Regions from separate parts of the Homo sapiens genome. Here regions 2 and 3 are each linked to region 1. Evidence: promoter capture Hi-C in 16 types of primary human blood cells and fetal thymus (Javierre and others, 2016). All regions are on one chromosome and are shown on one strand. The core of a region is centred on a gene start or on the middle of the fragment in contact, and the rest is flanking DNA. Distances in the headings are between cores, read along the strand shown.

Region 1 (4,322 bases), core at 883-3,382:
GAGCCAAACTAAAGTGAGTCTTGGAAGTCTGGTAGCACAGGTTTGTTCAGTGCACAAGATAGACTTGGTCAGCTGGAAAATATAGACATTCTGCAATATCTGGAATATTGAAAAAAATTAGTATCTCTGAAAGGAGAGATGAGGAAAAACATGAACAAGTTGTACAAAATGTAATTAATTTGTGAGCAAGCATTGAATGTTTACTGAGCCCTTGCTTTGTGCAACGAATTAGGCAAGGAAAATGAGGAAGACATGGTCCTTTATTGGCCAAATAAAGTATGACACATCTATACAATGGGACGGGAGGCAGCCATTAAACAGAACATGGCAGCTCTTAAGGGTACTATATGGAGCAGTCTCCATGTTTTGTTGTTGACAGTTTTATTTATTTTAGAGACAGGGCCTCATTATGTTGCCCAGGCTGGTCTCTAACTCCTGGGCTTAAGAAATTCTCCTGCCAGGCCAGGCACGGTGGTGGCTCATGCCTGTAATCCCAGCACTTTGGGAGGCTGAGGTGGGCAGATTATGAGGTCAGGAGTTTAAGACCAGCCTGGCCAATATGGTGAAACCTCATCTCTACTAAAAAAAAAAAATACAAAAATTAGCCGGGCCTGGCAGCGCACACCTGTAGTCCCAGCTACTCGGGAGGCTGAGGCAGAAGAATCGCTTGAACCCAGGAGGCGGAGGTTGCAGTTAGCTGTGATCATGCCATTGCACTCCAGCCTGGGTGACAGAGCAAGACTCCATCTCAAAAAATAAAAAAAAGAAATCCTCCTGCCTCAGCCTTCCAAAGATTGCTGAGATTACAGGCATGAGCCACTGCACCCGGCATTTTTTATTTTGTTTTGTTTTTTAGAGACAGGGTCCCACTCTGTCACTCAGGTTGGAGTGCAGGGCACAATCATAGCTCACTGCAGCCTCCAACTCCTGGGCTCAAGCCATCCTCCCACCTCAGCCTCCCCAGTAGCTGGGATAACAGACATGTGCCAGTAAGCTCTACTAATTTTTTGTATATGTAGTAGAAATGGGGTTTTGCTACATTGCCCAGGCTGGTCTTGAACTCCTGGCCTCAAGTGATCCTCCCGTCTTGGTCTTCCAAAGTGCTGAGATTATACATGTGAGCCGCCGTGCCCAGCCAAGTTTCTGAGTTTTGTTTATTTTAGAAAGGAGTCTTCCTGTGCTGCCCAGGCTGGTCTCAAATACCTGGGCTCAAGTGATCCTCCAACCTCAGCCTCCCAAATAGTTGGGACTACAGGTGAGCACCACCATGCCTAGCCAATCTCCATGTTTGATTGTTAAGTGGAAAAAGCAAGGTGCACAACAAACATACTATGGTGCTGTTGCTAAAGGAGAAGCACAAGGCCTACACATGTTTCTATTTACAGAGGTAAGCTCTGGAAGGATATACAAAAATCTGGTCACAGAGGTTGTCTCTTGGGAGGAAAAAAAGGGGACTGAGGAGAAATTAAAAAAAGACTTTTCATTGTACATTCTTTTGACCCTATTGTATTTTATATCATTTGCACATTTGCTTATTTAAAAAGTTTTCAGAAATTTAAAAGCAGCTCTTTTTCCAAAGTGCTCCTCACTTCATGTCATGGGTCCTGTATCCTAAGTTCCCCTATTTCAATCACAGTGCAAATTTACCCTCCACAGGCATGCCTTTCCTGCATCTAGACTCACTAGAAATAGCTGATGCATCTCTCCTCCCTTGCCTGCCCTCCACAGGAAAAGAAGCAATGAAAAAAAAGAAAATGAGATCCTCTGGTCTCTGTCACCTTTTTATCAACTTGTACTACCTGCCATTATCTGACACCCACATCTTTTCTTGAATCTGCCTCCTCCTATGGGACAGCGACATTTTCTTAAGTTGCAGATGATGGAGAAAATTTTTTAAAAGAAAAAAAGGGGGCAGGGGGAGGGAAGCCCAGAGTTTGGCCAAATGCACGTTTTTCAAGTTCCTGCTTGAGCTTAGATTCCCTTTCCGCTTTAAGGACATGCCCTCTGGAAAGAAGGGTGTTTTGTTTCCAGCCCACACAGACCCAAACTTTTTTCATCACGTGCCTGGTCCGAGCCAGTACGCAGCTCTGTAATGAGATCACCATGGCCAGCCTCCCACCCGAGCAAAAACAAGGTTAGCCTGCAGCAGAGCCGCAGCAGCAACAGCCACCAAAGCGGGGGCTGAAAGGGAAGAGAACTTAGATTTGACCTGTGCAAGGACCTCAGCAGCTTGGACACAGCCCACTGCAGAGGTAAGTGGGAACTACGGGGGAGGGGTGGTGTTTGCAAAGGTCAGGACATGTCCAGGTTCACTTAAAGTAAGGGCAAAACAACACTCTTCCCACCTCTGCCACCACCCTGTCCTCTCTACTTATGGCAGGGTTAGATTTGCCTCTAAACAGGGTTAGATGGCAGGGTTAGAATTTGTCCTAGGACATTGCTGTAGTGCAGTCGCCTCCTTGTCTCTTACTAATGTCTGTATCCTCTGCCTGTGTTTGTACCATCTACCTCCTCAGTAGTCTAATTTTTCTAGCAATTGACAGGTGATTGTAATGGACAAGTAATTGTTTGACTTTAAAACCATTTGTAAAGGAGCAACTCCTAATTCAGAACTCAAATGAGAGGCAGAACAAACTGGAAGAGACTGTTGGGAAGCAACTGCTGCCTAATTGCTTCTCATCTCTACTCTGCCATCACCAGGAAGGTATGGGGCAAAATACAACAGTTTTAAAGTCTCTGGATAGATGTGTGGGCTATGAGCTAGACAAGTAGGTTGAAACTGTTTTGATGCAACATACTTGGATTTACCAACAGTGGCTCCAGTTGTGAAATCGTTAGTGGCTTGATAGTACCTATGGAAACACTCCACGAAGGTTATTGAGTAAAGGGCATACAGTAAAGTGTGTAGGTGGAGATGAACAATAGAACAGTGGCTTTCAGGACCTTCTGGGGCTTAAGGCAAGCAAGACAAGATGCTGATTTGTGGGTTGCTTCAGTTTCATGTGCAATTCCAATTAAATTTCTTTGAGTGGGATATACAGATTCAATTCAATTTGCTAAAACACAGATGCACTGAGCATCAGCTTCTAACTTTAGTTACGAAAGTAATTAGCACAAGGGAATGGTGCTAAAATGTTCCATAGCAAATGTTGAACACTTTTTGAGGGCAAAAAGCAATGCTTTTGATTCGTGTATCTCTTATTTATTCGGCAAATCTTTCTTGAGTATCTTCTACATGCCAGGCTTGGGCTTGATTCTGTGGATCTCGTGGTAAACAAGACAGGCAGATTCTCGGCCTCATGGACATGCAATCAAGCAGAACAGTAAGCTCAAAGGGTGCAAGTACCATGCAGCAAAAGGAGTGAAGAGAGTATTACTAAAACTGGCCCATGGGAATCATTTTTAACCTTTCCTTTCATGCATTTCATCTTCTGTTTTTGTTTTTTTTGTTTTTTGAGATGGAATCTCGTTCTGTCACCCAGGCTGGAGTACAGTGGCGCGATTTCAGCTCACTGCAACCTCCACCTCCTGGGTTCAAGAGATTCTCCTGCCTCAGCCCCCCAAGTAGCTGGGATTACAGGTGCCCGCCACCACACCCAGCTAATTTTCGTATTTTTAGTAGAGATGGGGTTTCACCATGTTGGCCAGGCTGGTCTCCAACTCCTGACCTCAGGTGATCTACCCACCTCGGCCTCCCAAAGTTATGAGATTACAGGCATAAGCCAACGTGCCCAGCCGCATTTCATCTTTGTTTTTTTTTGTTTTTTTGAGACAGACTCTTGCTCTGGCGCCCAGGCTGGAGTGCAGTGGCATGATCTTGGCTCACTGCAACCTCCGCCTCCCAGGTTCAAGCGATTCTCCTGTCTCAGCCTCCAGAGCAGCTGGGATTACAGGCGTGCACCACCACACCCGGCTAATTTTTATATTTTTAGTAGAGACGGAGTTTCGCCATGTTGGCCAGGCTGGTCTCAAACTCCTGACCTCAGGTGATCTGCCCACCTCGGCCTCCCAAAGTGCTGGGATTACAGATGCGAGCCACCGCTCCTGGCCGCATTTCATCTTCTTAAATGAATATCGGCCACTCTATCTTCTATATAAGCCTCAGATTAGTACAGATGTTGAGTCATAGCAGCTCCTCAAAACCCTCTTCACCAGAGGCTTTAAACTGTGTAATTACATTACAGGTCAGTCTCCTCAGCCCTGGAGGTCGACTGCTCAGCTTTTTCCTAGCATACAGTCTGAGAGCAGAGGCTGAAGTAAGGGGAGTTCTAATCTTTGGGTCAGTTGCCCTCTCCCTGTGTCATTTCTTATGAAATAGAAGT
Region 2 (4,322 bases), core at 535-3,034, 380 kb after region 1:
CCTTTGATTTTTTTTAATACATTAAGAGAAAGAGAAATATATATATATCCACCCCCAGCCCAACCGAGGGCGGCCCTTGGCGGCAACATGCAAGAAGGAGGGACTGTCGAACCCAAGGGCTCAAAGACGCACTCTTCCACCCTTTTGGAGCGAATTTAGAACCTCAGCCCTATCTCCATTTCCCTATCTGGCTCTTTCTCTCTTGTCCCTCCATATGATCCGCCCCGACGCCGTCTTCTCTAATTAAAATGCAATAAGGAATCAATTCTTTTCTGCCTGAGAAAGAGAACCAGACGCAGGAAGATGAAAGGCTGCCCTTTGTTCTTCGAATCGTGGTGGTTTTATTTTATTTTTCTTTTTGTCGCTGCACTTCCTGTTTAGTTCCAAGGGAAACACTTTCTCTCTTTCTCTGTCTCTCTCTTTTCTTCCTTCTTTTCCTTCCTTTTTGTTTCTATCTAAATAAAAGCTTTCCCTGTGTTGGAAAGTTTTTATGTATTTAAACTACCTACCATGCCTGTTGTGCTCAGGTGTTTGTTCATCCTGCCATCCCCAACCCTTTTCTACCTCAAGTCTGTGTGACCACTCACAGCCCCCCTCCCTTCGCCAAAGCAGTGTCTATGCTCTTGATTAATAAAACATTTTCTGAAATCATCTGAAGCCTGTGTCATGTCTCAACCGGGGTCCCTCACCGACTCCCATGGCTTCTGCTAGGTGGAAAGCCTCTGTTCCTGCTCCTCTTCTTTTGATAAACACGAAACCAAACTTGAAATCAAGGGAAGCCGGCAGATAAAGAATGTATTTCAAGAACAAGAGCAAAGTTCTCTTTAGACTAGAACGGGAGGTGGGGGTAACTTATGGGAACGGGGAAGAACAAAAACGGAAACGAATTAGTCTCAGAGGGCCTGGGCTCGGGTTTTTGTGCGTTGAGTATTCGTGCTTGTCTGGAGGTTAGTATGCCCACTGGTGTCTGCAAAGAGTGGTTTGGAGTGTTTATTGGGAGGGAAGGGGGCCTAGCACACAGGTGAATCCTATCCCTGGGGCAGGGTAGCTCAGGAGAGGGGGTGTTGGTGGGGAATATGTTCATGTATGTGAAATTCTCAACATATAGATGTACATGTGACAGTGCAGCAACTCATACGGAGCCTGAGGCTGTGCAGGGGCCAACAAGGGTCTGCTTAGTACAGCTCCAAGCACACAGTAAGGACTTGACAAGTCACAGCAGCTATTATTATTTTATACCTGAGTAAAATAAGCTTGTGAGTGCTTATATGTTAAATTGAGGTATTTAGGTTTCTCTTTAGCAACGAAGCACTCGACAGAAGGTTGTGAGAGCATATGGATTTGTGCAAAGGGATGGGGTGTATGTGTGTATGCGTGCTCATTCGGGCACTTGTGCAGGAGAGCCAGTCTTTGTGTTCTCTCATGCGCACCCATGACTAGGTGTGGTGGGTATAAATTCGGTGCATTTGCCAAGGATCTTGGATGCGTATTGGGCTAAACTGGGGCGGGCAAACGCAGTGGTTTATACTTCCAGGAATAATAATGTACGAATACTTTGGTTGCGTGCAACTGTGTGCTAGGCACTGCGCTAAGCACTTCTGTGTCTCCCAACAGCTCCCATGGTTGCCCCACGGAGCGCACGCTCTGCAGCGCCTGAGGGTCTGCGGCGCTCACTGCGAAGGAGGAGGGGAGACCCGTGAGGCTGTCTTGGAACTTTCGCTCTGCGCACCTGGAGCCTGAGCGCTCGGCTTGGGAACAAGAAAGGAGACCTCAGGCAGCTCCGGGGCAGGGCCTCGTGGGGCACCAGGCGTGCCCCAGGCGCCTTGTCCCAGCGTCGGGGTGAATATGGGACCCCATTAGTCTTGGCTGTAAACACCGTAGCAGGGGCCGAGAGGCCACGCGGGCCTTTCCGGACGCGAAGGAGTTAATAAAAGGTGTTTTATGGGCGCTAGGAAACAGTGGGGGAGGTGTGAGCTTCTCTCTCTACTCTCGCCCCCCTACTTTTTTCTTTTTTCCCTCTCGCCACCCGCCGCCAGATCAAACAGGCCCGCGATTTAACTAGGGCAACACTTGGCGGTAATGAGCCTGTCCGACGCACCCCTTCCTCGGCCTCAGTACCCGGCCCGAGGCCCCAGGGCCCTTGGGGAGGAGCAGAGAGAAAAATCAAAGTTTCTTTCTTGTTGTTTTGTTTTTCTTTTCTTTACCTTCTTTCTTTCCGTTTCTTTCTGGGAGTCCGTTTAGAAATTCCGGCGCGCATGGAGAAACAGACTCAGGGAGGGAGGTGATCTAAGCCCCACAGCACGGAGGGAAGCTTATCTAGATTCGAACCCAGGACTCCAACTTCGCTCACACACAAACCTCTGGCTATACACAGGTCCCAGCTCCCAGGACTATTTTTAGCACCGTGAAGTATCCTAGGCACGGGAAGAATGCGCACCCTGGTCTAGCTTTCTTATAGCCGGGGAAAGAAGAGGGGGTGCTGAGGGAGACCCGCCAGCGGCCGCCAAAGCCAAGTCTGGCATAACCAGGCCTCTTCAGAAAACCCAATCCTGCTGGCCCCAAACCCTCTTTGGGAAGAGAGCCTTGGAGCCCTAAACTCGGTCTCAGAAACGTGCAGTCCCTGAACCCGGGAGCCGAGACGGAGCCGGCGCCCATTGAGAGGGTCACTGGATAGTCCCCCACTCTCCCCACGCCTGACTCCAGCGGCCTCCCACGCCCACGCCACATCCCCAGCTCCCACCGCACAGCTGGAAAAGCCGAGCACAGAGAACGGCTCGGAGCTGCCCCAGGTTTCACAAACCATTCTGTGCTGAGGGTCTGCAGACTAGGGGTCCAGCCCTTCTCGCTGCCACCCTGGCTCTCCAGGCTCCCACCCCTCCTTAGCCCTCCCTTCTTTGAAAACATCTTTAGAGTCTAACGTTTAGTTTCTTCTTCTCTGCCCAGGTTTCAACGAGGTTTGTCAGACACCTCAAATCAGCTGTGGCAGAAGCAGGGTCATTATTTATTATTTTTGAATTAAATACATCTTTTTTAAAAAATGGGAAAAATGGAATGGTTACCAACTTAAAAGTAAATTCCAGGAGTTTACTGCAAGGAAATATTGATGTTACAAAACGTTAACTATAGGACTATTCTATTAAAGAGTGAAACACGAGAAAGAACCTGATGTCCTATAATTACAGAACTGGCTCAATAAAGCCATCAGTACAAGTGGGTTACTATTCAGCCATTAGAAAAAATGTGGGAATTGACATGGAAATTGTTCACGATATATTAAGTGAGAAAACCTCCTCCCATATTACACCAAACACTGTCCATTGTGACCCTTTTCATGTAAAAATAAAAAAATATTATTCGTGGAGAAAAATTGGAAGAATATACATCAAAACTTTCACACCTTTACCTCTGACTTGTGGGAATAAGGGTAATTTTGACTTTTCCTCTTGCTTAGCCATATTTTTCTTAAATGTCTTATAATGAATAAGTATTACTTTTGCAATAAAAATTAAGCTGCAATTTCCTCTGTTGCCAGCATACTTTCAATACACCATTTATTTAACATACATTTATTGTGTGCCCACCATGTGCTAGGCACTGTGGGCATAAATATAATGAAAAGATCCTAATAACGATCAATTAACATACAACAGAAAATATTTGTCCTGAAGAGTTTATTATTCCTCGTACACAGCAAATAGTCTTTTTTTCTTACATTTAAAGTCTATTGATGAATGGAATAGTAACAGCTAACATTTATAAAGAAAAGTATTTAAACTCAGCATGCATTATTTCATATAAGCCTCACAGGGTTCCGTGAGGTCAATATTGAGGGAGCTGAGGCGTAGAGAGGTGAAGGATTTTGTCCAAGGTCACATGGATGGCAGATAGGACTTGTATCAAAGTGCAAACATGGCTACCTCCAGAGACCTGTTTCCCCCACATCTCGGAGCACCTCCAGGTGTGTGTGTGTGTGTGTGTGTGTGTGTGTATACATACATATGTGCCCAAATACAGTTTCTCTCAGTCTGATCTTCCTTAGTCCCCAAAGTAAGGTAGAGAAAAAAAGAAGGAAGGAGTTACGTGAAAGGATCTGGGATTCAAATTCCAGCATTCTCCTGGAACCCTCTTCCCCTGTCAGGGCTCTGAGTGGATCCCATCTAGAAAATGAGGAAAAGGGTAGGCTCCAAGGTGGTTTCCTGTTAGTAACATTCTGATTCCAGGAATCTACTTTCTCCTGGTGAGGAATTCAGCACGTTATTCTTTGCAGTAGTCTCTGGTGTTTGCCTGGCACATTTACCTTACCCGGGTACTTCCACTTTTAT
Region 3 (4,322 bases), core at 511-3,010, 330 kb after region 1:
ATACTGTAATTACTACGCCATATTCTCCTGCGAACAAAAACAACAGTAACTCACACTTATGAGCACTCATTACGTGCTATGCACTTCATGGAGGTTGACTCGTGTTGTTCTTCCCCTGTTTTTTTCATATGGGGAAACCAATGCACAGAGAGGGAGGTCAAGTGATTGCTCAAAGTCACACTGAGATAAGCGGGGAAAGTGGGACTTGAGCCCCAGCAGGGTGAGCCCAGAGCCCCACGTGCTTCACGCCCTGCCCGACTCTGCCTGCTGCTTCCCTGGCCTTCTGGAGCTAAGGACAGGCTCCTCCCTGTCACCCACTTTTATCTCTGCTTGAGAGGTGAAGAAACTAAGGCCCAAAGAATGGACATGACTGTGCCCCTGCCCCTGGCATCTATGGCAGGGTGGGGCCTGGAGCATGAGGTCTGCGAGTTCTCCTTCTTGGAGGCTAGGATGGGAGCTAAGGGGCCTAGGTTCTAGTCCCTGAAAGGCTGCTGTTTTGCTCTGTGACCTGCAACACAACACAGCTCCTCACTTAGCTTCAGTTTCTCCATTTGCTCAATGGGAATGACAATTGCGGCCCTTACCCACCTTACAGAGCCTGATGTGAAACGAAGTGAGGGAAGGATGGTGGGATGGGATGGTTTTCCTGGCCCGGATTCCTGTCCCATGAATGGAATGTCTAAGCAGCATCATTTTAGGGCTTAAAGCCCCAGGGGTAGGGCTGAGCGGGGCCTCCTCCATTGGGAGACCCCCCACCTTGGGCTCCAGCCCAAATTGCCAGACACAGGCCTGAGAGGCGGACTCCCCTCTAGGCAGGGGTGCCCAGGAGCCAGCCGGCTGGCCATTTGTCCACAGATGGGTGTGCAGATAACAGGCGTCTGGAGATAAGGCAGAGCCTGCTCCCGGCCTAGTGGAGAGCCAGGCTGAGCCACAGTGGGGAGGGAGACTGGGAACTGGGGACAGGGAGGTGTCTGCCAAGATGCCCTGAGGCCTGACGCAGAACTCTCTGCTACCCTGTAGCACAGAGCTGATGGCCTGCTGTCTTCTGGATCTTTCCCCAAAACAAAACAGAATAAAGCAAACAAATAAGCAAAAAATATACTTTTTTTTTGAGGCAGGCTTTCGCTCCGTCAACTGGGCTGGAGCGCAGTGGCACCATCATGGCTCACTGCAGTCTCAACCTTCCTGGCTCAAGCAACCCTCCTGCCGCAACTTCCTGACCAGCTAGGACTACAGGCATGGGTTACCACGCCTGGCTAATTCTTAAATTTTTTGTAGAGACAGGATTTTGCCATGTTGCCCAGGCTGGTCTCAAACTCCTGGGCTCAAGCGATCCTCCTGCCTCAGCCTCCCAAAGTGCTGGGACTACAGGCATGAACCACCACACCGGGCCAAAAAAAACATACCTTTATCAGAAGTGCTGCTTACACTGGAGAGAGCCCTGAGCTAGCACCAAGTGCCACTGACTTACTGGACAGGCTGTGTCAAGTCACTGCCTGACTCTGAGTCTCAGTGTCCTCATCTCTGCAGTGAGCACAGTGATCTGCTGCCACCTCCAGCCAGATACAAAGGAACGCACATAATAAATAACTAATCCCATGTGATGCCATGTGGTAAGTACTATAATCATCCCCACTCTGCAGATGAAGACATGGAGGTATGGAGGGATTAGGCCATACATCTAGTAAGTGGTGATACCAGCATTTAAATTTAGGCAACCTGGCCGGGTGCGGTGGCTCACGCCTGTAATCCCAGCACTTTGGGAGGCTGAGGCAGGAGGATCACCCGAAGTCAGGAGTTCGAGAACAGCTTGGCCAACATGGCGAAACCCCACCTCTACTAAAAATACAAAAATTAGCCAGGCATGGTGGTGGGTACCTGTAATGCCAGCTACATGGGAGGCTGAGGCAGGAGAATAACTTGAACCCAGGAGGCCGTGGTTGCAGTGAGCCAAGATTGCACCACTGCACTCCAGCCTGGGCGACAAGAGCGAAACACCATCTCAATAAATAAATAAATAAATAAATAAATAAATAAATTTAGGCAATATGATTCTAGCAGCAAGCTCCTAAGTGTTTGAAATGTCACTGCCAGTGTTATTAAAGGAATAAAGAGGGCCAGGTGTGGTGGCAGGCGCCTGTAGTCCCAGCTACTCTGGAGGCTGAGGTAGGAGGATCGCTTGAACCTGGGATGCGGAGGTTTCAGGGAGCCGAGATTGTGCCATTGCACTCCAGGCCTGGGTGAGAGAATGAGACTCTGTCTCAAAAATAAAATAAAAAAAATTTAAAAAGGAATAAAGAAAACTGCAGTTGGAGCCTATTTGGGTTTTTAAAATATACACACTTGTGGCTGGGATTGGTGGCTAACGCCTGTAATCCCAGCACTTCGGGAGGCCAAGGTAGGCAGATCACATGAGGTCAGGAGTTCGAGACCAACCTGGCCAACATTGTGAAACCCCTGGCAGGTATCCGTTAGATGACAGTAGTAGCACACTCTCCAACCCCAGCTGTGACAACCAGAAATGTCTCCAGACATTGCCAAATGTTCTCTGAGGGGAACCCCTGCTCTCCCTGAAACCCTGTTTAGAAATCACTAACCTAGAGGCTGTGACTAAGAGGGGTATTCACTTTCTTTTTTTTTTTCTTTTCTTTTTTTTTTCTGTGACAGAGTCTTGCTCTGTCACCCAGGCTAGAGTGCAGTGGCGTAATCTTGGCTCACCGCAACCTCTGCCTCCCAGGTTCAAGCAATTCTCTGCCTCAGCCTCCTGAGTAGCTGGGATTACAGGTGCCCACCGCCACGCCCGGCTAATTGTTGTGTTTTTAGTAGAGACGGGGTTTCACCATCTTGGCCAGGCTGGTCTCGAACTCACAACCTCGTGATCCACCCGCCTGGGCCTTCCAGAGTGCTGGGATTACAGGCATGAGCCACTGCACCCAGCCGAGAGGTGTTCACTTTCTAACCCCTACGCTGAAAATTTTGCCACATGCAAGCACGTTACATTGAAATAAAAGAAAAGAATACATACAAAAAAAAAAAAAGAAAAATTATTGGATGGTGGAAGGATGGGTGGCTGGATAAATGAATATCAGTTGAAGTAGCCAGATGGAAATCAAAGCCAGGGCATTCTGGGAGAATATTTTGAGCCACTTTCTGGGAGAACACTGTGAGCCAATTTCTGCATTTTACAGAAGAGGAAAGGGGGACTCACAGAGGGAGGGGCTTATCTGCACTCCCAGAACCAACTGGTGCAGAGTGAGATGAAGGTCTGGATACATTGGCTCCAGACCAGTGCTCTGAACCCAGGAAGGTGAAAAGGCAAATGAGAGAACAACTTCGCTGACAAAACTCTTGCTTTTGCAGTTGGAGGCTCCAGGGACTTGGCAGAGCTGCCACCCAGCGTGTTGCCTTTAGATGATGCCTGGAATGTTCAGGAGGCAAGGGACTTCACTGGTAACTTGGCCCCATGGAGCCCTCGGTGTAGAGAGGGATGTGCATATACATGGCAGTTTGTGCTGAGGGCCAAGCAACGGGGAAGGGTCTTTTATGGCTCAGTGTGGTGGCAGCATGATGTTGCAGGCTGGGAAGGCTGACAGAGACTAACCCAGATTGGGATAGCCCTGGAGCACCAGGTGGAGGAGAGAGAGGAGACCTAGGGTTGTTGAGAGTAGGATGGCTCAAAGGGAGAGCTGTGGCCATGGTTGTGAGAGGAGGGACTCTTCTAGAGATGACTGTGGTGAGGGTGACAGTTCTCCATTGTGAGTTTGAACACATGGTGAGGGTGAACATTCTCCATTGACAGTTCTCCATTGAACACTTAACTGTGTGCCCAAGATCCCACAATGTGTTCTCAGGGTGGAGGCAGTATTCAAACCTGCGTCCCTCTGGCTGAAGAGCTTGTGCTCCTAAGCATGCTACTCTATCCGTGGAACACCATGCAGCCTTTAAAAAGGACAGAGGAGCAGCACTACTCACAACAGCCAAGAGGCGAACACAACTTGTGTCCATCCGTGGATGAATGGATAAACAAAATGTAGCAAATACACACAATGGAATATTATTGAACCCTAAAAAGAAAGAGAATTCTGACACATGTTACTGTGGACGAGCCTTGAGGACGTTAAGCTAAGTGAAACAAGCCAGTCACAAAAAGACAAATACTGCCTGATTCCAGGTATGCGAGGCACCTGAAGTAGTCAAACTCATAGAGAGAGGAAAGTGGAAGAGTGGGGGGCTGGGAGGAGTGGAGATTTCTTGTTAATGGGTACAGAGTTTCAGTTTTGCAGGATGAAAATAGTTCTGCAGATTGGTTGCACAAGATGAGT

The links. Contacts are between HindIII fragments. The CHiCAGO score rates a contact against its expected background, and 5 or more counts as called.
Region 2: a contact is called between a fragment that was not itself captured here and the fragment with the promoter of FAXDC2 in region 1, in 5 of 17 cell types (activated CD4 T cells, naive CD8 T cells, total B cells and 2 more). The highest score is 8.2, in activated CD4 T cells.
Region 3: a fragment that was not itself captured here is called in contact with the fragment with the promoter of FAXDC2 in region 1 in 1 of 17 cell types (monocytes); the score reaches 6.0 in monocytes.

Annotation. Positions count from the first base shown.
Region 1 is chr5:154,848,413-154,852,734 of GRCh38, reverse strand. It overlaps FAXDC2 (fatty acid hydroxylase domain containing 2), which reads left to right and starts at 2,132. Exons shown (of 9, transcript NM_032385.5): 1 at 2,132-2,252. The HindIII fragment of the contact is 21,500 bases long and covers 1-4,322 here.
Region 2 is chr5:154,471,301-154,475,622 of GRCh38, reverse strand. It overlaps HAND1 (heart and neural crest derivatives expressed 1), which reads left to right. Exons shown (of 2, transcript NM_004821.3): 2 at 1-651. Among named protein-coding and RNA genes, the nearest start is that of HAND1, 4.8 kb to the left of the region's middle. RefSeq lists enhancers at 1,247-2,218, 2,219-3,190. The HindIII fragment of the contact is 1,058 bases long and covers 1,256-2,313 here.
Region 3 is chr5:154,513,901-154,518,222 of GRCh38, reverse strand. No RefSeq gene overlaps it. Among named protein-coding and RNA genes, the nearest start is that of HAND1, 38 kb to the right of the region's middle. RefSeq lists an enhancer at 4,049-4,108. The HindIII fragment of the contact is 7,100 bases long and covers 1-4,322 here.